Linked DNA regions of Homo sapiens: regions 2, 3 and 4 are each linked to region 1. Evidence: promoter capture Hi-C in 16 types of primary human blood cells and fetal thymus (Javierre and others, 2016). All regions are on one chromosome and are shown on one strand. Each heading gives the region's core, a stretch centred on a gene start or on the middle of the fragment in contact. The rest is flanking DNA. Distances are from core to core; before and after follow the strand shown.

The links. The method cuts DNA at HindIII sites, captures the fragments that hold promoters and counts their contacts. A CHiCAGO score of 5 or more calls a contact.
Region 2: a fragment that was not itself captured here is called in contact with the fragment with the promoter of KIF27 in region 1 in 3 of 17 cell types (total B cells, activated CD4 T cells and non-activated CD4 T cells); the score reaches 8.5 in total B cells.
Region 3: a contact is called between a fragment that was not itself captured here and the fragment with the promoter of KIF27 in region 1, in 1 of 17 cell types (neutrophils). The highest score is 9.0, in neutrophils.
Region 4: a contact is called between a fragment that was not itself captured here and the fragment with the promoter of KIF27 in region 1, in 5 of 17 cell types (total B cells, non-activated CD4 T cells, naive B cells and 2 more). The highest score is 8.3, in total B cells.

What each region holds. Positions count from the first base shown.
Region 1 is chr9:83,919,309-83,925,182 of GRCh38, reverse strand. It overlaps KIF27 (kinesin family member 27), which reads left to right and starts at 3,751. Exons shown (of 18, transcript NM_017576.4): 1 at 3,751-3,812. LOC105376335 (serine/arginine repetitive matrix protein 1-like) reads right to left here and starts at 4,282. Exons shown (of 3, transcript XM_011519284.2): 1 at 3,922-4,282; 2 at 3,485-3,829; 3 at 298-517. The coding sequence starts at 4,282. The coding sequence ends at 381. RefSeq lists enhancers at 2,351-2,855, 3,470-4,219 and silencers at 3,589-3,738, 3,769-4,148. The HindIII fragment of the contact is 5,103 bases long and covers 686-5,788 here.
Region 2 is chr9:86,349,002-86,354,875 of GRCh38, reverse strand. It overlaps TUT7 (terminal uridylyl transferase 7), which reads left to right and starts at 466. Exons shown (of 27, transcript NM_024617.4): 1 at 466-605; 2 at 1,646-2,196. The coding sequence starts at 1,677. RefSeq lists a silencer at 208-387 and an enhancer at 408-617. The HindIII fragment of the contact is 195 bases long and covers 2,605-2,799 here.
Region 3 is chr9:86,296,536-86,302,409 of GRCh38, reverse strand. TUT7 (terminal uridylyl transferase 7) reads left to right here. Exons shown (of 27, transcript NM_024617.4): 26 at 809-1,134. Among named protein-coding and RNA genes, the nearest start is that of ISCA1, 17 kb to the right of the region's middle. The HindIII fragment of the contact is 4,572 bases long and covers 300-4,871 here.
Region 4 is chr9:86,279,083-86,284,956 of GRCh38, reverse strand. It overlaps ISCA1 (iron-sulfur cluster assembly 1), which reads left to right and starts at 2,419. Exons shown (of 4, transcript NM_030940.4): 1 at 2,419-2,579. The coding sequence starts at 2,499. LOC124902194 (a long non-coding RNA gene) reads left to right here and starts at 2,876. Exons shown (of 2, transcript XR_007061634.1): 1 at 2,876-2,988; 2 at 3,504-5,874. RefSeq lists enhancers at 2,019-2,298, 2,419-2,568 and a silencer at 2,739-3,038. The HindIII fragment of the contact is 1,365 bases long and covers 2,410-3,774 here.

The DNA.
Region 1 (5,874 bases), core at 2,502-5,001:
CATGCCCGGCTAATTTTTGTATTTTTAGCAGAGACGGGGTTTCACTATGTTGGCCAGGCTGGTCTCGAACTCCTGACCTCATGATCCGCCCGCCTCAGCCTCCCAAAGTGCTGGGATTACAGGCGTGCACCACCGCCCACCCCCATTTTTAAAGAAACCCCATTTTTAAAGTATAAAGCTTCTTTTCTCCCCGCCAGAGAAATTAAGGGAATTCATCAAACATTATAGCAACATTAAAAGAATTTAAAGTGGGAGAAGAGGTATGATCTGTGGTTTCCTTAATACTTCCTTTAATACTTCCTTTCTTTCCTGGATCCAGCTTTTCTCAAAATATGGGTGAGGGAAGATGATTTAGGCGAAAAGGGCACATATTTCTTTATTTAATTTGGTCTAGCTGTAATCTTCTGTTTGTTACTGCTTTTCTGGTAAAGTGGACTGGGCATGGATGTTTTTCTCTGTAGGACAAGCAGCCCAAAGCTGGTCTCCCATGGGACATATGCAGAGTTCTTCAGTGGACCTGAAAGATACAGTTCCCTTAAGGAGAAGACCTAGTTCCCTTAAGAAGATCCAGCACTGGCTCAATTACTTCTGCTAATCCCAAGCCCAGCTCCTCCCACTGCCTCTTACTGATGGGGACTTATCTGCAGGAGACAGTCCTCAAGACAATCTTCATGGGGCTCAAGCTTGGGTACCCTCCAAAGGATCCCCTGGACCATGAGCAAATCACAGCTTCTCCCCCTGCTAAACTGCAGGAACACAGACTGCTCTACTACAGCAACATCTCAGTTGCTTCGCTCCATTCTTGAGAAGAAGATCAGCTCACTTCTTCCCCTAGTTGCTCCCACCAGAAGGCCAGGTTTCCTCTTCTAGCACATCACACAGGGTTTGCCCGTCACTCTTAGAGCCTCCTTTGACTTAGGTGGGAGGCCTCTTACTCTCCAACCCACAAGGCCCAAGACCCCTTGACTCCACTGCCGAGTCTTTCTTACAGATACTTAAAAAAGAGATAGGATTGGAATTTGAATGGAATTAGCTTAGTCCTGCTATAAATCCTAGGGAGGAGGGGTTGGCAATGACTGGCATTCACTTCACAGTGTGGGGAACTTAAGTAACTCCTTTTCTCTAACTCTGGACTCAAGACATCAATTTGGGGACAATGGAAAATGCCCCATTCTAATGCTGTTGGGCATTTGCTGACCTCCTCTCTGCAATTGTGTGGCCTCTTGAGAACTTCTGTTGAGACTTCTGGGTATTCCTAGACTTAAATTGTTACGTACTATTAATTATTGAAGTTTTGTCAGCAGACCAGTCTGACTTACCAATTCACAGTCATGATGTGAGTTTTTGTTTGTTTTCAAAGAGTTCTAAAAATGCAACTTGGCCCTATAGTCAAATTGGGCAACCACAATCTCCACCAATCATGAGGGGAACCTTGGAAGACTAGGAAATAATCCATCACCCCAATCTGAAAAGCAAGCCCAGGACACTGGCTTTCGCATTTGATTGATACTGAGCCACTATCAGACATTCCCTTGACATCATGACTCAATACACAGGTATGTGTATAAATGAAATCTTAGAATTTTAAAAATTATGTATTATTTATTATTTTTTTGAGGTAGAGTCTCATTCTGTCACCCAGGCTGCAATGCCATGGTGCAACAACAGCTCACTGCAGCCTTGACCTCCCAGGCTCAAACCATTCTCTCACCTCCACCTCCAGAGTAACTGGAACTGCAGGCATACTCAGCCACACCTGGCTAAGTTTTGATTTTTTGTAGGGATGGGGGGTCTCATTATGTTGCCCAGGCTGGTCTCAAACTCCTGGGCTCAAGTGACCCTCCCAGTTCAGCCTCCCAAAGTGCTGAGATTACAGGTGTGAGCCACTGTGCCCAGACTGAATTTTTAAAATTTTAAATAATTCAGTTAAAAGAAAAAAAAATAAAAACTATAAATAAAATAGTCAGCTTTTTTCCCCCACCTTCATTCCTATATTTCATGAGAGAAGGAAGGGTTTTTGAAGATGCTTAGATTGTGCTACTAAAAACAGGAGGCATTAAAGCATTTAAAACTAAATTGGTAAAGTTAAATATTACCATACGACCCAGCAATTCCACTCTTACGTCCATACCTAAAAGACCTGAAAACAGGCTCGGCGCGGTGGCTCACGCCTATAATCCCAGCACTTTGGGAGGCCAAGGTGGGCGGATCACCTGAGGTCGGGAGTTCGAGCCCAGCCTGACCAACATGGTGAAACCCCGTCTCTACTAAAAATACAGAAAACTTAGCCAGGCGTGGTGGTGGCACATGCCTGTAATCCCAGCTACTCCAGAGGCTGAGGCAGGAGAATTGCTTGAACCCATGAGGCGGAGCTTGCAGTGAGTTGAGATAGCGCCACTGCACTCCAGCCTGGGCAACAGAGCGAGACTCCATCTCAAAAAAAAAAAAGGAACTGAAAACAGACATCCAAATATTGTATGTGAATGTCCATAGCAGCATGGAAACAGCCCAAATGTCCACCACCAGCTGAAGAATGGATAAACAAAATGTGGTATGTCTATATCCATACAATGGAATTTTTTCAGCCCTAAAAAGTCCTGATAGGGCCGGGCAGGGTGGCTCATGCCTGTAATCCCAGCTACTCCGGAGGCTGAGGCAGGAGAATCGCTTGAACCCATGAGGTGGAGGTTGCGTTGAGCCTAGATGGCGCCATTGCATTCCAGCCTGGGCAATAAGAGCGAAACTCCATCTAAAGGGCCGGGCGTGGTGGCTCACGCCTGTAATCCCAGCACTTTGGAAGGCCGAGGCGGGCAGATCACGAGGTCAGGAGATCAAGACCATCCTGGCTAACACAGTGAAACAAACCCCGTCTCTACTAAAAATACAAAAAATTAGCCGGGCGTGGTGGCACGCGCCTGTAATCCCAGCTACTCGGGAGGCTAAGGCAGGAGAATCGCTTGAACCCGGGAGGTGGAGGTTGCAGAGAGCCGAGATCACGCCACTGCACTCCAGCTTGGGCGACAGAGCGCGACTCGGTCTCAAAAAAAAGAAAAGAAAAAAAAGAAAAGAAGTCCTGATAGATGTTACAACATGACTGCATCTTGAAAACATTAAGCAAAAGAAGCTAGACACAAAAGGTCATATACTGAATGATTCCATCAATAAAGAAATGCCCAGAATAGGTAAAGCTATCACAGAGTCAGAAAGTAGATTAGTGGCTGGCTGGGGTTGTGGGGAGAGGGGAACCAGAAGGAATGACTGCTAACTGGTTTGGGGATTTTCTTTTGGGGTTATGAAAATGTTTCTGAACTATATACAGAGGTGATGGTTGCACAACACTGTGAATGCATTAAACGCCACTGAATTGTGAGTTTTAAGATGGTTTATGTTAGGCAAGTTTTACTCAATAAAAATAAAAATAAACTGAATTGGTAGCTAAGATATTGAAACACGGTGTGGAATCGTTCTCACTCATTTCACGAACCCGTAGAAAGATGCTTGCGCTCAGGCCTCACAGACCGGTCCCAGCGCGTTGGTGGGACACAACTCGGATTTGCAGGCAAGCCCAGGGGCCGGCCCTTTGCGGACTTCCTGGGGACGCAGGACTCCTGCGCGGCGGGCTTGGAGGCGTGGCCAGGATGGGGGCGGGGCCAGGACGCGGCATCCAGGAGAGGACGCGGCGGGAGGCGGGCTTCGCCGGTTGCCAGGAGAACTCGCGACAACAAAAGACGCGGACGGCGGCTGCGCGGTGTGGCAGAGCGAAGCTGAGGAGTCCAGCGCTCGCCGACAGGGGCCTGGGCTGTCCCGAGCCGGTCAGTGCTCGGCGGGCCTGGCGGGCGGTGCGGGGAAGTGGGGCGCCCTCCCTTCGCGGTGCCCGCCCTCCAGCCCGCCGCGCCCGCCGCTCCCGCGCCCCCAGCCGGCCGTTGGGACTAGTAGGCTCCGGCTTGGGGTCGGGGCCGCCGCGGGTGGGTAGCGGAGGGTGGGCGGTTGGGGCGCCAGCTAGGCCTATGGGGGCGTCCGAGGGGTCTGGGGTCGGGGCTGGGAGCCGGCGAGCGACTAGAGGCAGAGCGCCCCTTCCGGAGGAAGTTGGGTCAGCCCTGAGGAGCGGGTCCCGGGGAACACCGATCGACCGGAACGCGGGACCCGGCCTTTCAGAGCGCACCCTGTGTTCGTCTCGTGTCGCTGCACGGCGTGAGGTGCGACGCGAGGGCCACCACCACCGAGCGCTTTGTTTTATCGCAGGCGTCTTTTTCCCACCGTAGAGGTTGAAACTTGGGCGCATTTCCCACCGTAGAGGTTGAAACTTGGGCGCATTTCCCACCGTAGAGGTTGAAACTTGGGCGCATTTCCTACCGTAGAGGTTGAACCTTGGGCACATTCAAGCCCGAGAGCTCCCTCCCTCGGAGGCAGGTGACTATAAAGAGCAAAGCGCCCAGATTCTTTCTTTGAAACACCTTTTAAGTAACACCTTTTAAGTCTCCAGTGTTGAAAATCCTTGTTGTTTGCCCTTCTTTACTCTTTTGTCGTCTTTACGCATTTGGGGCCTTTTCTGAGCTCCGTATGCGATTTACTGTCCATCTACTGGCAAGTTTTTTATGAAAATAATTAACAAACCACACATTTAAGACAACCACTGCTTTCTGGGAAATCAAGGGTACGGGATGGCAACGGTTTTTGGAGACACTCATTCCTGACCAGTGACATGACATGAGGGATTCAATATTTCTCTTGCCTTTGCTCAGATTTCAAAAACCCGTTGAGTATACTTAAATACGACCAATCAGATTTTGCTTTTTTTTAAATCATTTATTGGCAACATAATACGTATGTTTCTGATGACTATAATTGATCAGAATCTGAAGTATAAGTGCTATGGATTGTGTAAAAACTTTATTTCTTGTATATTGATGTTTTACAAGCCCTATGTTTGTGGACCATTACTATTGTTTGTTTGTTTTGTTTTGAGACAGGGTCTCGCTCTGTTACTCAGGCTGGAGTGCAGTGGCACACTGCAGCCTCAACCTCCCGGGCTCAAGCGATCCTCCAATCTCAGCCTCCCAAGTAGCTGGGACTACAGGTGCGTCACCACAGCCTGGCACATTCTTGTATTTTTAGTAGAGACAGGGTTTCACCATGTTGCCCAGGCTGGTCTGGAACTCGTGGGCTGAAGCGATCCACCTGCCTTGGCCTCCCAAAGTGCTGGGATTACAGGTGTGAACCACTGTGCCCGGCCCCATTATTATTTTTTTTAATGCTTAGAATAAGTTTCAGTTGCCTTTATAACCAAATTCTTTATAGATATTACCATTAAAAACCCCAAGAAATGAGGCTGGGCATCGTGGCTCACATTTGTTTTGTTTTGTTTTCAGGAGGGATCCTCTCGCTTCAGCCTTCTGAGTAGCTGGGATTACAGGCGCACGCCACCATGCCTGCCTAATTTTTGTATTTTTAGTAGAGACAGGGTTTCTCCATGTTGCCCAGGCTGGTCTCGAACTCCTGGGCTCAAGTGATCCACCCGCCCTGGCCTCCCAAAGTGCTGGGATTACAGATGTGAACCACCGTGCTGGGCCATGGTTTTTTTTTTTTCAAGGGTAGTGAATATTATCAATTCATTGTTGTTAGTGTTATTAATAAAATATTATTTCAGTCTAGTTGTCTGTGTTACTTAATGGTAATCTTCAAGACTCAGCAGCTTTTCCAAAGAACCTAACCTCACCTCAAATTCATTACTTTTCATCATCTGCACTCAAACATTGTCATAGATTACTTGTTAAATTTTGTATAAGCTTTATCCTTCCAAAACTGAACATTTGTATGTAAGTTTTTATGCGAACACAATGTTTTCATTTCTCTTGGGAGTGGAATTGCTGGATC
Region 2 (5,874 bases), core at 1,453-3,952, 2.4 Mb before region 1:
TCCCTCTCCGGGTGCATAAGTCTTGGCTCCCGCGCCTCTCCCGAGCACTTAGCCTCCCGAGCAGAGAGGGGAACCAGAGGAGCGTCGAAGCCGGGAGAGAAAAGGGGCGGGCGCCGCTCTGGTAAGAAGTTCGGGCCTGGCCCCCAAGCGCCGGCGAACCGGCTATCCGGCGAGCCAGTAATTAGCCCGCTCCGACGGTTGCGCCCGGTGGCCAGACCCGGCGCCCGACACCTGGAGCGAGTGCGCTGGGGCGCCGGACAGGAGAGGCCAGGCTGGCAAAGGCGCGGGAGGCGGGGTCGGAGCGTGGGCGGGGCACCGCGGGGCGGGGCGCGTCGCTCGTTTCCGGTGTGCGCGGCGGAGCGCTAGGGCGGGGGCACAGTCGGCTCCCAATCGCGCACAATGAGACAGCGCTGAGCGCCGGAAGTGGGGCCGAAGGAAAACACGGAGAGGGAGCCCGGCCGGGACAGGAAGAGGCTGGGGACCGCGGCGAAGGTGGTGAGTGCTCTTGGGCGCCTTCTCCCAACGTCCCTGCCAGACTCGCCTCCGGGCTGATTCTCCAGTTGGTTTCCTGGACTCCAGAGTAGCTGTCCGGCCTGGCCCCGGAGGTACGTTGGTTCCATCCCCCGCCGGCCTCCTCGCACCAGTTTGGGTGACCGAGGAACCCCCAGGCCGGCAGAGGCTGAGCCCTCGGGTTCGAGTCCGTGTTTTCACTTTTTGTCAGACTGCGGGCGCAGAAGACGGGATTTGGGTCAAGACATTCGGCTCTGGCCCCCTGGCCGGCCGGGGGAACCCTGGAACCCCATGGAGACAGCAGGTCACTTCCTGCTTCCTGGTCCCCACGGTGGCTTCTTGGCCAGGAGTGCAGGGACGCCTCCTCTTTCTCCACGTCGGGCTCAAAAGGGTGGAAACTAAGGCAGATCGGTGGTGGAGCGGTCAGATGGGGATTGAAGAGGAGTGTCATTCCTCAGGGAATTGCTGTTCCTGACAAAACCAAACTTGTTTGGGGTTGGAGAACGGGGATTGAGGAGGTTAGATGGAGTTGTCCCTTGATCGGAAACCCAGCCTCTTTAATTACAGCTGCACCTTGGTCGGAAGCCCAGCCCCTCCGTAACCTAAGCGCTCAAAGCCGGTCTGTCCAGAATAGGGGTGGTGAAGGGACGGAAAATTGGAGTTGAGAAATGTAGTACTCCTTTCACGTAAAGTTTCGGTGTATAACACTTACAAGTAATTGCCAACTTAAAAAACAAAAGACTGTTTCGGTAGTTTAGTAATAATATTGGCTTGGGATGAGGTTTTCTTTGAAGAGAAACGCCTTGTTACAGAGGGAAAAGCCGACCATACTTGATATGAGTAATATTCTACTATGCTACAGTTCTGGAACCTATAGAGCTTCTCTTATTCACACATTTAATCTTCATGCTAAATAGTAAGTATTAATTTTCATGAAGAATATTAGAGGACCAAGCCTCCCAACCTCTAGGGTAAAGCACTGATTATTAAGAATGTGATAGAATTTTTATTTTAAAAAAATAGGGAGTTTCTTTCTTACAGGCTTTGGGGCATCTGTACGATAAATTGTTATTTTGTATACTTGTATGATATCTTGTTATATAGTTTGATATTTCCCCAAAATACCTTCTTTCAGGTGCAAAGTAAGAAAATTGAAGTCAAAGACCATGGGAGATACAGCAAAACCTTATTTCGTGAAGCGCACTAAAGACCGGGGGACTATGGATGATGATGACTTCAGAAGGGGTCACCCCCAACAAGATTATTTAATAATAGATGACCATGCTAAAGGCCATGGCAGTAAAATGGAAAAGGGCCTTCAAAAAAAGAAGATAACACCAGGGAACTATGGGAATACCCCCAGAAAAGGACCATGTGCTGTTTCCAGCAATCCATATGCATTTAAAAACCCAATCTACAGTCAACCCGCTTGGATGAATGACAGCCACAAAGATCAGAGTAAGAGATGGCTGTCTGATGAACATACTGGTAATTCAGACAACTGGAGAGAATTCAAACCTGGACCTAGAATTCCTGTTATAAACCGACAAAGAAAAGACTCCTTTCAAGAAAATGAAGATGGTTATAGGTGGCAAGACACAAGAGGCTGCAGAACTGTAAGACGACTGTTTCATAAAGACCTAACAAGCCTAGAAACCACGTCAGAAATGGAAGCAGGAAGTCCTGGTAATGTTTTCCAACTTGTCAGATCACAACCCCAGAGTCAGCAATGTTTTATTCTTTTTCATCCAAATGAGTTTTGTTATTTTCAGCAATTTAGTTTCAGTTTTTCACAGTTTCTGTTTTAAGAAATGGTCACTTAGTGTGATTATTTTAAGGATAGTAATCATGATATTTGAGCAGCTAAAACACATTTCATATGTTGATCCCTTTAAAAGTTTACTTTGCCCCAGGGCTCACTTTACGTCAGTAAACATGTTTTCTGTAACGTGTTTTTTACAGAAGAGGGTAGCTATATGCTCCAGGGGACCATATCGTAATTGCTCAGTGGTTTGTGTGTTTTCAAAATTGTGATTATAATTTTGTATTTGAATAATTAATGTGTTCATAATATAAATGACAGAATATAAAGCTTTTTTTAAAAAAAAAACTTATTTGTTGATGTAAAAACACAGTATACACTGCGTATATCTCCTGCCACAAGAGATATATCTTTTGGATGTAGTGTCAGTGTCCCGAGATGGATAATCTGAGATCTTTGTTTTTCAAAAGGGATCGTGACAAACAGGTTGAGAAACAAGTTTAGAAAGTCAGAAATAGATTCAAGCTTTGCTGTTTGGTTTCAGTAAGACCAAAACTAATTTCTCGGTGCCCTCACATGCTTGGTTAATTGCCCCAAAGGGATAATAAGGAGATAATATGTTTTTCTAAAAGTAAAAAGTAGATTTTATCCATGTGGCAACGATTTCTGCAAACAGGAAGGTTATTTTTATCTAATGGGAGATATATACCGAAATGAAATAAAGTCACAAATTGGATGGAAAAAATGAAACAATATCACAGTTGGAAACATGGACTTGTAAGTTTAGTGGCTGAAAGCGTTTTTTAGTGGTTGTATAGAATGTGTTTCAAACTGGCCAGCACTTTTAAATAAATTTTTTTAGTTTAAATGCATTCAGGGAATATGGACACTTTCTAGATCACCCGATGCCTTTTCTCTTCATGTTATCTCACAGTGGCCAGTTCATACACTGGTTACCTATAAGGTGTTTGAATTTGTGTCCCATGCGTATAGAATACTTAAAAGCCAAAAGGTCGTCTTTTATCTTTACAAGGTCTTAGGATAAAAATGAAAGTCTCAAGCACTTATTAATATTAAATGGGGGGAAATGTGCTACTTGATTTTTTTTCTTTTTTCACAGATACTTCTAGTTGTCAGATCTGTTTATTTATATTTTATTTTATTTTTTGAGACGGAGTCTCGCTCTGTCACCCAGGCTGGAGTACAGTGGCGCGATCTTGGCTCACTGCAACCTCTGCCTCCTGGGTTCAAGCGATTCTCCTGTCTCATCCCCCAAAGTAGCTGGGACTACAGGCACATGCCACCACATCAGGCTAATTTTTGTATTTTTAATAGAGACAGGGTTTCACCATGTTGGCCTGACTGGTCTCAAACTCCTAACCTCCAGTGATCCACCCACCTTGGCCTCCCAAAGTGCTGGGATTACAGGCGTGAGCCACCACATTCAGCCTGATTTTTTTTTTTTTTTTTTGAGACAGTCTCACTGTGTCACCCAGGCTGGAGGTGCAGTGATGTGACCTCCTCTCACTGTGGCCTCTGCCTCCCAGGATCAAGCGGTTCTCATGTCTCAGCCTCCCAAGTAGCTGGGACTACAGGTGCACACCACCATGCCCAGCTAATTTTTCTGTTTTTTAATAGAGATAGGGTTTCTCCCTGTTGGCCAGGCTGGTCTTGAACTCCTGACCTCAAGTGATCGACCTGCCTCTGCTTCCCAAAGTGCTGGGATTACAGGCGTGAACTACCGCGCCTGGCCCTCAGATATTTTTAAATTTGAAAATTAAGAGTATATATTAATATCAAGTAGCAGAAACAGAATGAAGTGTTATAAAGGCGTTAAGTAGTAGGGAGACATAAAACTTAAATCTTTAAGCTAGAAATAGCTTGAGGAATTATCTGATGCAGTACTCTGTTGTAATATATCAAAAATGGAATCACAGTTTTACAAATCAGGCAGCTGCAGCTCAGAGAGGTTAAATTTCCACAGACCTGTTTATGCAGCGCGGTAAATGAGGAAGTAGAACTAAAATTGGGGACTCTGCTACTCTGGCCATTAACTCAGCCTCGCTGGACCTGAAATCCTGACGGCGGAGCCGAATATTTCTTGATAATTTCTGGGCTTTTGATTTGTGTTTTTCTTTATTAAAAATTGTGTATATTTAAGTGTTTCTGTATTACTGTCCAGGTGGGATGTGGGTATTTAATTTTGTTACCTATAGTCTTGTAGAAGTTGATCTTGAAAACCATTTCATTTTATTATTATTATTCTCTTTTTTGAGATGGAGTCTCGCTCTGTAGCCCAGGCTGGAGTGCAGTGGTGCGATCTTGGTTCACTGCAACCTCCATCTCCCAGGTTCAAGCAATTCTCTTGCCTCAGCCTCCTGAGTGGCTGGGACTACAGGCACGTGCCACCACACCTAGCTAATTTTTGTATTTTTAGTAGAGTTGGGGTTTTAGCATGTTGGCCAGGGGTAGTCTCGATACCCTGACCTCATGATCTGCCTGCCTTGACGTCCCAAAGTGTTGGGATTACAGGTGTGAGCCACTGCACCCGGCTGAAAAGCATTTTAAAAAGAAAGTTTATAGATCAAAAATTTGCAACTAGACATTAAAAGGAACTGTTGGCTGACCACAAAAACTTTTATATGTTTTCTTATTTTATGTGTATTCTTATAAAAGCAACTAAAGAAGTTGCTTTTAAGTGTATTTGAATAGGAAATGCATTTTGCTATTTTTTTATTGGAGGTAATTCAAAAGTTTGCATGTTTTTGCTGTATGACATACAGGTATATGCTTTCACAGTTATTAAGTAAAGAATTATTCAGTTTCTATCCCTTGAAAATCTTCATATAGGAAGCATTAAGCTTCGGTATAACATTATTTAGTTTAGAGAGATTCAACTGAAAGTATAAACTAAAAAGGATCTCATTAAAGAGATCGAAATTTCTTTATCAAAATTGTGTCTTAATAAGGAAGGGTATTATTCAACAATGTGAGAAGATATAATGGAAATTATGGTGGAGTTGCTTTTTTCCCCCCCACATACGGTACTACCTTCTGTTTTTTTCAGCTCTACATTACTGCCCCTACTTTAGCCTTCAAATGTCCTAGATTGCCAGTTTAATGTATTTGGGACATTGCCATTAATGATCTTAGCTGGAAAGCATCCACTCAAATACACATGTCCTTTGTGAACCATATGCAAATAAAATATGGGAAACTTGGAATGCCGAATATAGAGAACTCTTATTACAATAAATCTGAGGTAAGCCAGGTAGTCTTCCTCCAAGTAATTATGAGAATTTTTCTTTTTTCTTTTTTTTTTTTGAGATGGAGTTTCACTCTTGTCGCCCAGGCTGGAGTGCAATGGCATGATCTCGGTTCACTGCAACCTCTGCCTCCCGAGTTCAAGCAATTCTCCTGCCTCAGCCTCCCGAGTAGCTGGGATTACAGGTGCCTGCCACCACGCCCAGCTAATTTTTGTATTTTTAGTAGAGACAGGGTTTCACCATGTTGGCCAGGATGGTCTCGAACTCCCGACCTCAGGTGATCCACCTGCCTCGGCCTCCCAAAATGCTGGGATTACAGGCATGAGCTGCCACGCC
Region 3 (5,874 bases), core at 1,336-3,835, 2.4 Mb before region 1:
CTAATGCACAGTAACTGTTCAGCACGTTGGGATATATATTCACAAACAGTTCACTGGATTTTAGCACTCTTTGTTTGTATTCCACTTAACCCTTAATAATTGTTGTGAGTAGGTAAGCCATGCAGTTTAGTCCCCATGCTTTCTTCTGGTGGCGTTTATTGGGGGGCAAGAGAGACATGTTTTTGCTTGCTTGCCTTGGGATACGTTGTTTTGGGTGGTAGTGGTGGTGTTTTTAACTGTACAGCAATATTTTAAAACATGGTGCTCAAATTAGGTTACCATCTGGAATTTGAGAAGCTTTGTTTTTCAGTCCTTTTTTTCATTACTCAAAAATCAGTGATTATTAGGATAAGGGAGAAATGATTTTGACATTTTAAGAGCATAAATCTTAAAACCATTGTTCCTTTGTGAATTTAAGCCTTCACATCTAAAATTTCCAGTGCCAAGTAAAGAAAGAATGCTAATGTGCCAGAAAGGCCGTTCAAGAAATCACTCCATGGATGATTTGCCTTTCATTACATCAGTGTCAAAGTAGGCATTCAGCCAAGGAGTGCCACTAATTGCAGTCATTGGTTTTACAGCACTAGAGCAACTTTGAAAATGAAGAAGAAAAACTGCACCCTTAAACCCTGAGGGAGCATCTTAACAGAGAAGATGGATTTTCATTTAGGTTCTTGCTTTTCCTTTTAATACTTTCTATTCCTGGTCATCTCTTAAATCTAGAATTGCCTTAATATTTTGGGAATTGCCTTAATATTTTGTTAGGCTTCTGTTTAGATTTTTGCTACTAATATGATATCTTCTACAGAGTAAGACGGCGGCGAGATCAGGAAGATGCCCTGAACCAAAGATACCCTGAGAACAAGGAAAAAAGAAGCAAAGAGGACAAAGAAATTCACAACAAGTACACAGAAAGGGAGGTGTCAACAAAAGAAGATAAGCCCATACAGTGCACACCTCAGAAAGCCAAGCCAATGCGGGCAGCTGCTGACCTGGGGAGGGAGAAGATCCTCAGGCCACCAGTAGAAAAATGGAAGAGACAGGATGACAAAGACTTAAGAGAAAAACGTTGTTTTATTTGTGGAAGAGAAGGGCACATTAAAAAGGAATGCCCACAGTTTAAAGGCTCTTCAGGTATGGACACCTATCACACCTTGATGTTTGCTCTAACATCTCAAGGGAAATCTGCTTTTTAGAGCTCTTTACTATTTTAGTTATCTTTATTTCTTTATCAATATATTTACTCAAAAAAGATCTTGTTTTTAAGAAAGTAAAATCCCTTCCCCCTCCTTTAATGTTGATCCTCCATATATCTTATTCCTGGCTTTATTTAGAGTCTTATGAGAGTCATTTGGTGAACTTTTCTAAGATTATCAGTGAGGTGAAAGTGTAATCATCCCTGGTACCTGCACATGTAGCCTCAGTGACCAGAAAAGAAGCTGCAACTTGAGCTTTGCTACTTGATATATGTACTTGTGAAATCAAATCACAGGGGTGGCGGTAGCCAGAGTTATCTCAGGACACCATGCTCTGTGCACAGGTGAGCCACACACAGGCACATGCATAGAAAAGGGAACAGAAAGAAATAGGCTGCATAGTTAGCAGTGGGTGAATCTGCAGAGGGGAATTATGGAAGATTTTTTTCTGTAGATTTTGTCATTTTGATTTTCTACAAGTGAGCATGATTATTCTTATGACGAAGAAAATATCTATTAGCAGTCATTAACAACACCATCCACAAATCTGGCCCCTTTGAGTTGTTAAATACAAATTGGCCATTTTTGCTAAATGGGTGAAATGTCTATTGTGGGCACCTTTTAAACAGACTACTAACTATAAGGGTACCTTGTGTGTGTATAATAAGTAATGATTTACAAAGCAATTTACATTCTCACTTCTCAGAACTGTGCAAGTGATGAAATTTGATAAGCATAGAAAAGAAATATTTGGAAGTAATTTTTTTCTAATTAAAGTAGTCAATCCTGTCGCTATCCTCAGTTGTATATATATGTTTGTGGACAGCATAAAGTGTCAGCTGCTTTACAGTTTCCCTAAAATACTCCATGTGTATAGTTCTTGGAACAAGAATACCTCTCTTCTATTTTATTTTATCATATTCAGCAATATAGTGTATCTTTTTTTAAGACAGGAGATTTTTAGATCATACCCATTCTTTTTTAAAGGAGCTTTATATGAAAAGATCAAAATACTTAAAAATTTTTATCTATTATTTTTAGAGTAGGGTTTAAATGTTTATGAAAGATACAGCTTTAGCTGCTCACATGGGACATATACCAGAATAAAGTGATTTTCTTTTGTTGTTTTAAGAGGAAAATGTATTTAAAAGAAATTACAATAATAATAGTTGCTAACATTCATTGAGCATTCACTATGAGTTAGGCACTATTTTAAGTACTTTACATGGATAATTTCATTTAATTTTTACAACAGCTTCATTAAATACATTAATATCTGCTGTTTTACAGGTAAGGAAACTGTAAATAGTATAGATAACTTTTAAATAGTATTCCCAAAATTATTCCTAAAATTACTCGAGGCCTGTGTTGATTACTCATGACTGAAACATTATTACAGTCTTCCTCTTTGGTACAACAAAGTGGAGAATTTGCCCCAGCTTTGATGAATTTCTTTTTTCTCGCTAGCAGCAAGTTTTAAGTTGTGTACTAGGGAAGCTCTCACAACAGTTAGACCAATGATTTTGGCAGCCTGTGGGGACAGCAGCAACTCAAAAAGATGCGGGGCGGGTAGTCCGGGTGGCAGGGGAATTATCAAGCATAAGGAAGAGCACTTATCTAGAAATGTGGTCCCTTCAGAATGCAGTCTTGACACATTAAAGTTAGTAGTCATCATATTTTAAAAGTGAAATGACAGTGGAGGCATGGGGATAGATACAGGGAATTTCCTTTGGTGGCAGTTCAAAAATAATCAGCTGCTTCTTCCTCTCTCAAAATTATGCTGCTCTCTCTTGTTTCTTCAGATATATTGCTCCTTTGTCCACACAATATACTGAGTGGAGCTTCTGTCACACCAACAGACAGTCTCTCTGTGAAAGTTTGAAAACAGGGCTACTGCTTTCAATTTAAAGTAGGAACAAAAAGTGCTAATTTCTTTTTTAGGAATGTCTAAATCAGATTGTATGTTTGGATCGCCCTCACCTGTCCCATTGAAACCAACTGGTTTATTTGTTCAGGTAAACCTAGCTCAAACGGAGAAGGAGGCGTGTCTGTCATCTGTTCACTCAGGAGCTGCTCCCTGAGTGCTCTCAGCTCTGCACCATGTCCTTGCGCTGTGCTGGCAGTGCGGGCCCTCCTTCCTCTGGCTGACCTGCAGCACTCCTGTCTGTCCTGCGCGGGTGTGGTGCGTGGTGAGGCTTACTGGGCACCGGATGGCGGGGCCTTGTTTCAGAACTCCTGCCCATGGTCTTGCTTTTCAGTTAACTTGCAAAATTCTGCCACCCACATGCCTTATTTCAGCTCTCCTTGGATATGGTTTCGGTTTTAAGGCTGTTTCAGATGCTCTTCCTTTCGATTTTGTAAACCAGTCTATTTCATTTTTTAGGCAGTGCTTTTACATGAAGACAAAAAGAAACAAAAAACAACAATATTTTTGAGTCCCCAGTCAGGTATGTGGGTTTTAAAAAAAACAAATGTGTGTTATTTTATTTACTGCATACTTTACCACATGCCTTTTGAGACTTTTTCTCCAAATATGTGCTTTTAACAGGGATTGGACATCAGAATCACTTGGGGGAACTTTAAAACATATAGTTGCCCATCCTCTACCTTTATTTCCTAAAGCTAATTCTTCAGTGGTTAAGCATGGGCCTGTGTGTTTTGTAAATTCCAAGTGATGTTTATACCACCCATGAGTGGCAACCAGAGTCTTCAATTATTTGTTCCAGTCCCGTGCTTTTTGTTGCTGCTGTCTTGCCAGCAGTGTTTTCTCCTCCTGGAGAGTATTTGCCACACACAAAGTAAGGAAAAAAACTAATCTCTAGCCTGAACTCCACTGTTACCTCTCAGCTACTTCATTTATTCATTCTTTCAACAAATAGCTATCCAGCCTCTCCCCTCCCTTTCCAAGTTCAGGACACCAGCCTCAACACTGAAGATACAGCAGTGAACAAGCAAAGCCCCTTCTCTCATTTACTCTGCATCCTTTTCAGAAGAGGTAGACAATAAAGAGATACAGAAATAATATGTCATGTGGTGGCAAATGCTAGGAAGAAATAACAAAACAAGAAAAGGGAAAGAGAATGGTTGGCTAAGGAGGCAGCATCTCTGGTAAAGTAACATTTAAGCAAAGAATCAAATGAAACAAAGGGGCCAGTCGGGGGAAATTGGTGTTAGACTGGTAAACTCAGAGATGGAAACAGGTGTTGTCCTGCAGCATCACTGAGGCAGTGTGGCAGGAGTGGAACAGGATTGGAAACTCGAGAGACAGAAGAAATTTGAAAAAAAAAAAAAAGTGGAGCAGGCAGAAGGGTGAGTGAGTGGTAGAGGTGAAGTCAGAGGGTGGATAGATCTGGGTTATGAAGCGCCTTCAGCAGTGGTAGGTACCGTTTTTGTTGGTTTTTTTCTCCCTCAAAGTGAAATGAGAGACTATTGTAGGGTTTTGAGCCAAGGAGTGATATTATCTGAATTCTGTTTTAAAAGGTTCATTATGGCTCCTGTGTGGAGGCAGGGTAGCTACTTAGAAACCAAGCCATCTCAGCCTCCCGATTTGTAGAGATGTGGTCTCACTATGTTGCCCAGACTGGTCTTGAACTCCTGGCCTCATGTGATCCTCCCACCTTGGCCTCCCAAAATACTAAAATGATAGATATGAGCCGCCACACCTGGCCATAAGCTTCAGCCTTGAGCAGATACTTTCTAAACACTTTATATAGGGAAAAAAAACTAATTCTTGCGTAGCCAAGGTGTTCATTTTGCCGAGAATAACGTAGCATAGTGTTTACAATTACGTGGGTGTAATTTCTAGCTTTGTGATCCTGAGAGACTGCCTTATCCTCCATATGCCTCAGTTTTCTCATGTGTAAAAAGGGGGTAATAATAATACCTGACAGGGATGTTGAGAAATCCATGTAAAAGTACTTAGAACAGCGCCTGCATATAGTGAGAGCAGAGAAAAGGGAAAAGGTTCGTGGTGGTGATTGCATTGATGTTATTATTCCTTCAGGGTATCACCAAGTCTTCCAGTGCCAGCATTGTTCAGTTGAGAGAGAAATATAGATGCTAGGCATACACCTAGAAATAGCATTGACAGTAAGTTACGATTTCTGTAATTATCTTCTTAGTAAAAAACCTACATATTTATAAATCTTTTGAGCAACTGGAAAAAAAGTATTAACTTAAATTTACTACAGGAAAAATGTATTGCAATAATTATGTTACTTTATACCAGAAAAAAGAAAACATTTATAGGTGGTTAAAATCGATCCTATCCAATAAATCAGACTCTTCCAAATAAGTATATGTCAGATGATATAACTGTCTAGTTTATCTGTGATATATGTATCCAAATTATCTATGTTGTTATAAATGTGAACTGTATCTCACCTGTAAGTGGTGTTAATTTCCCCACAGCTCTTCCTTTCCATAGTATTAAGTATGTCTTTGGCCCACTTGTAGTTTCTCAAGAAAGCATGTTGATACGGACAGCCCCTACTCTCATATATGGTGTATTGACCTTAGGCAAGAGATGTGGTTTCTCTGAGCTCCAGATATGTCATCTATAAAATTGGTGTTAACACCGTTTATCTCATAGGGTGCTAAGAAGATTAAAGTACTGCCCAGAGTAGGCACTCAGTCAAGTTCTCTTTCCTCTCCTGATACCTACCCCCATCCTTTCCTC
Region 4 (5,874 bases), core at 1,843-4,342, 2.4 Mb before region 1:
AATCTTGTAAAGTGCTGCACAACTGTGTAATGTGTCAATAACTGAAAAAAAAATGACAGCATCTTTTATTTTTATTAAATTTTAATTTTAGGGCTGTTTTAGGTTCACAGCAAAGTTAAGCAGAAAAACAGAACTGCATATATCCCTTGTTTCCACATGTGCCTCACTGTCACTCTGCACCACAGTGGTACACTTGTTACAATCTTAAACCTACATGGACACATCATTAGCTCTCAGTGCCCATAGTTTACCTTAGGGTTCACTCTTGGTGGTGTACATTGTGTGGGTTTTGACAAACGCATAATGATATCTATCCACCATTATAGTAGTTTCACAATACATGGCATCTTTAAATACTCATTAACAATTACCATTTGAGTGAGGCTGTGTGCCTTGCACCCCTCTAAGGGCTTCTCCTGTATTAACTCATTTAATCTTCACAATATCTGTAGGAGGGAGGATATGAGATCCCAAACCCCCAGGTAGTCAAAGATGAAGGCCAAGAAACAAACCCACCACACCACCACCTCTCTATGTCCCTCCCTCCCTCCCTTCCTCCCTCCCATCACTTTTTCAGTTTCTTTCTTTCGAGATGCAGTCTCGCTCTGTCACCCAGGCTGGGGTGCAGTGGCGCAATCTTGGCTCACTGCAACCTCCGCCTCCTGGGTAGCTGGGATTACAGGTGCCCGCAAACACGCCCGGCTAATTTTTGTATTTTTAGTAGAGACGGGGTTTCACCATGTTGGCCAGGCTGGTCTAGAACTCCTTATCTCAAGTAATCTGCCGGCCTCCGGCCTCCCAAAGTGCTGGGATTACACGTGTGAGCCACTGCGCCCGGCCCCCAGTTTCTTTTATTTTCTTTCTTTCTCTCTCTTTCTTTCTTCTTTCTATCTGTCTGTCTGTCTCTCTCTTCCTATCTTCCGTTCTTTCTTTTTTTTTTTGAGACAGAGTCTCACTCCGTTGCCCAGGCTGGGAGTGCAGTGGCACGATCTCAGCTCACTGCAACCTCCGCCTCCCAGGTTCAAGCGATTCTCCTGCCTCAGCCTCCTGAGTAGCTAGGATAACAGGTGTGCACCACCACACCCGGCTAATTTTTGTATTTTTAGCAGAGATGGGGTCTCACCATGTTGGCCAACCTGGTCTCGAACTCCTGACCTCAGGTGATCTCCCCGCCTCGGCCTCCCAAAGTGCTGGGATTACAGGCGTGAGCCACGCGCCCGGCCCCCAGTTTATGTGCAGATAAGGCTTAGGGGAAAAAAAAAAGCGTCCTCTTATTGTCAATGCGATTGCATTTCTGTAGCAGGAAGTCAGAACTACTTGATGGAATTTTGAACTATCCTTTCAGAAACTGCAGGAGATCGAAGATAAACTTGGCTTTAAAAAATGTTTCACTGATTAGTTCTTCCCACATTCAAACACTGCGAATCTGTCCTCCCCAGGACTGCTTCATAGACCCCTCCTGCCCTTTTTCCTTCACTTCTAGCACTTCAATGACAAATGCCACCTGTCTTGATGTCCTCCTCTCTTCATCTGCTAGCCCTGTCCTGCCAGTATCTCATTCTTCCCTGGCCCCTCTTTACCTGGCTTCCTGTGTATGCCTGGGTACCGCGCCTGTGCAGTGTCTGGTGCTCAGGAATACTGCATCAAAAGGCAGAATTAAGCCCCTGAGCAGCCAGGACAAGGTCTGACAACACGTTTTAAATCGAGTAATTGTTGCTCGCTATAAATGTGACTATTCACACTGCTGCCCAGTCACATTTTCAAGTAGGGTTGGTTCCCAGTTCAGCACCAGAATGAAAACTGCATTAGTCACCACCCTTCAGCATCCCCAGCAGTACAGCACGCTGGGGAGAAGGGTGGAGGGTGGCGATTATACAACTCTGCGGTAACGCCATGCTCTTAAGAACAGCCTAATTGGACCACAAAAGAAGAATGAAAATGGATGTAGATGTCTGGGCATCGGAACGATCACTCTGCATTTGAGAGCATAAGCTCCCAGTGCAGGGTTGACTTATGCGTCCTTAAGTGTCACCGCCTATGATGGTGTTTGTCACGGTGAGTATTAAAGCAGGGGGTGACGCTGCACCTTGCCCCGGGGGCAGGTGGTGAAGCTACGTGCATCCGGAGTCAGCAGGTCTGAGGTCATTCCTCGCCCCCTCCCGCCCGCTCCCCGACGTCACGCCGACTCCGTCCTCGGCGGTGAAGACATTCCTCCCGGGCCCTGCGCCCTGCAGCGTGGTAACCCCACTGCCGGAGACCGTGCGCAACCCAGCTGCTAGACCCCCGGCGTTGAGCGGCAAAACCCCGCCCCGAGCGGCTTGCCCCGCCCCCGGCTCGTCACTCATGCAACTCACCCAATGGTGGCGGCGGGGGGCGGGGCTAGGACTGAGGGCGCCGTGCGCCGAAGCTTGTGGCGTCAATGCGCCCGCCGTGTCCATGGAGAGAAGCTGAGGCGGCCGACCTTCGGCCCGAGGCACCGGGGCGCCGGGACGGCGAAGATGTCGGCTTCCTTAGTCCGGGCAACTGTCCGGGCTGTGAGCAAGAGGAAGCTGCAGCCCACCCGGGCAGCCCTCACCCTGGTGAGTGCTCGCGGCGCGCGGCGGGGCCCGTGACATTGCTCGTGTCCGCCCCGTGCAAGGGGAGGTCACGGCGGCCGGGAGTGGGGCCGCAGGGACGCGGACACGTCAGACCTCGGCGTCGCTCCGACCCGCCGCACAGCCTCGCCGCCTCCTTCGCCTCCGGCCCCTCTTTGCAACGATAAACAAGTCCCGGGCGGGGCTGCTCTCTTGGCCCCGGAAACTACGTTTCCCGTCAGGCCGCGCGGCAACCGCGTGCGGGCCGGAGGGGATCCCGGGGGTGGGCGTCCCCGGGGGCCGATCGCCTCCACACTCCTGCCGGCCTGCGCTGTTCGGCCGTTCCGGTTAAGCAGAGGCTGAACGTGCCCGGTGGCGGGGGTTCCCGGTGGTGGCCCGGAGTCCTAGCCTGGAGGTGCGTGGGGTGGGGAGGGACCAGGCTGTCCGAAGGACCGCTGTGTCGGGGCGACAGCGTTCGCAGAGGGCGAGCACAGCGACAACAAAGCCCCCGGCTCCTGCCGAGGTCACGGCCGCGGCGCGCAAAGCGTTACTTGCCGGTGTCCTGGGTGATTGAGGCCTTTGAAACTCCCTCTGTGCCTCTAGCAAGCCTAGGCTCTTAGGACAAAAGATGATTTCCCAGAGTGAGTTTACAGCCTTTTCTGGGTGAAAGGTCAAACACTCAGAGGGCACCAGAGTGCAACCATTGATTACTTAGAGAATTCACTGAGCTCAGTGTTCCGGCCGCACCGTTCAGTTTTTTAGTGGAAGGAAAATCCACATAACATAAAATTAGTCCTTTTAAAGGGTACAATTCAGTGCCATTTAAGACATTCACAGTGTCGTGCAACCATCACCTCTATCTAGTTCCAAAATACTTTCACCCCAAAAGAAAAATTTATGATCACGTTCCTACATACACTCCCCTTTTAGTGAAGGAGACGACTTTATGCAACCATTCGCTTAGAGACTGGGAAAAAAAACGATTTAAATTGACTCATCGATTCTGTTGCATCTAATGCCAAAAGGGCCTATTACCAGAAAATAAGTTTGTAGCAAAGTAGAAGAAAATTGTGATCAGGTGAGAGAATTTATTTTTATAATCAATTTTTTAGGCCTTTGATATTACCCTGATTATATATGGTACTACTAGTGTACTGATTATGTATCATTCTATATTACCTCTTTTCTGTAGGAGCAAGCTTATTTTCATACACCGTGGGATGTAGAATTAAACAAGGTTTTAAGAACTAGAGGGCACAACTCATTCTTTGTGTCTCTTTCAATCTCAGTAAGAATTATTCAGAATTCTTCCACTGGTAATGGTAGATCCAGGAAGAGCCAGAAGGTTCAGGAACAGTTTTTGCCTTTTCTTTTTTGCTTTTTAGCAACCCTATTAACTGGGTTTTTTGTTTTTTGTTTTTTGTTTGTTTGTTTGTTTTTGTTTGTTTTGTTTTTGGAGACAGGGTCTCACTCTATCTCCCAGGCTGTAGTTCAGTGGTGCAATCATGGCACACTGCAGCGTCAACCTCCTGGGCCCAAGCGATCCTCCCACCTCAGGCTCCCAAGTCGCTGGGACCACCGGTGTGCACCGTCATGCATGCACCTAGGGTCTCCCTGGGTTGCCCAGGCTGGTCTCGAACTCCTGGGCTCAAGCAGTCCACTGCCTCAGGCTCCCAGTGTGCAGGGATTACAGGTGTGAGCCACCATGCCTGGTCCCTGATGTCTTTCTCCATCACCATTTGACATGTTACCTCTTCCTTCAGAATTTCTTTTTTTTTTTTTTTTTTTTGAGACAGGGTTTCGCTGGGTTGCCCAGGCTGGAGTGCAGTGGCGTGATCTCAGCTCACTGCAGCCTCTGCCTACTGAGTTCAAGCAACTCTCTGCCTCAGCCTCCTGAGTAGCTGGGATTACAGACGCCCACCACCATGCCCAGCTTATTTATTTATTTATTTTTGTATTTTTAGTAGAGATGGGGTTTCACCATCTTCACCAGGCTGGTCTTGGACTCCTGACCTCGTGATCCACTCGTCTCAGCCTCCCAAAGTGCTGGGATCACAGGCATGAGCCACCGTGCCTTGCCCTTCCTTCAGAATTTCTATGTCAGTCCCTTTCTCTCCATTCCTAGTCATTCAGCAGACATTTATCAAGATCTGCTGTGTTTCAAGACAAATGAATGAGTTATACAGTTCCCAGCCTACGGGGCACAGTCGCAGGCCAAGCCTTTGCCACCTCTTACTAGGAGTAATAGCACTGCACATTCTCAGGCTTGGTCTCTCTCCACACTTGCTCCCCTCTGCTTCAGTACATGTTATCATAGCAGTTCTCAAGGTATCCATGTTGCCTGACTCAGCTGTTTTGATTAACTTGCAGGAGTCTACTGTCTGTACTCTGTTGTCCTACTTAAGTATGGCTGACTTTAGAAGCTTCTCAGAAGCTGTACCAGAGAGAAGGCACATCAATGCTGTTTTCCACACAGCCTGTGTTGGTGGGCTTGCAGTCATTTTAGTTCCAGCATTCGTGCCCTAGTCAGGACACTATGGCATGTATTGCTCTTTGTGCTTAGTTTATCATCAGCATGTATCGTCAAGTGCAAAAGTAGTGATGCCGTCAAAGGCCTAATGAATGGAGACAGATAAGAGAGCAAACAAAAGTATACGTAATTCAGTAAAACTGATTGGAAGAGGTAAATGTTACTTGGGTCTAATAAGTAGAGACAGATAAGAGCAAACACAAGTATACCTAATTCAGTAAAACTGATTGGAAGGGATAAATGTTACCTGGATATATAAATTTTGATGTTAGGAATTTGACATGTTGCAACATTTGAAAAGTGCTATATGTGTGGAGTCTACCAGATGTCAACAAAAGGCTAGGAAAAGTAACTGATAATATAACACAGTTCAATGCTGTCATTATCAGATTATCTACATCTTCCCTATTTCCCTACATATCTAGAAATTGACAAGTGGAATTGAACTTGCAGGAGCCAGATGTGATTAAAGAATCTGAAGAGTAAATAGTGCCCTGCTTGCAGACAGATTTATTTCCATCATTGTACAAGTCAGAGCAACTCTAATTTGTAGGACTGGGGTGGATCACAGCTGTGCATTAAAACTCAACCAAGTTCTATGAGAGAATGATGGTGCACAGCCACTATCATTCTTGATGAATTCATTGTGTACGGAAGGTGCCTTAGGGCTTAACTTTCTATTGGAGTCCAGTTGAGAAGCTAGGAAATGCTTAATGCTCAGTAAGGAACTGTGTGTTAGTTCATTGGACTAGAACCAGAAGTCCTTTTGAA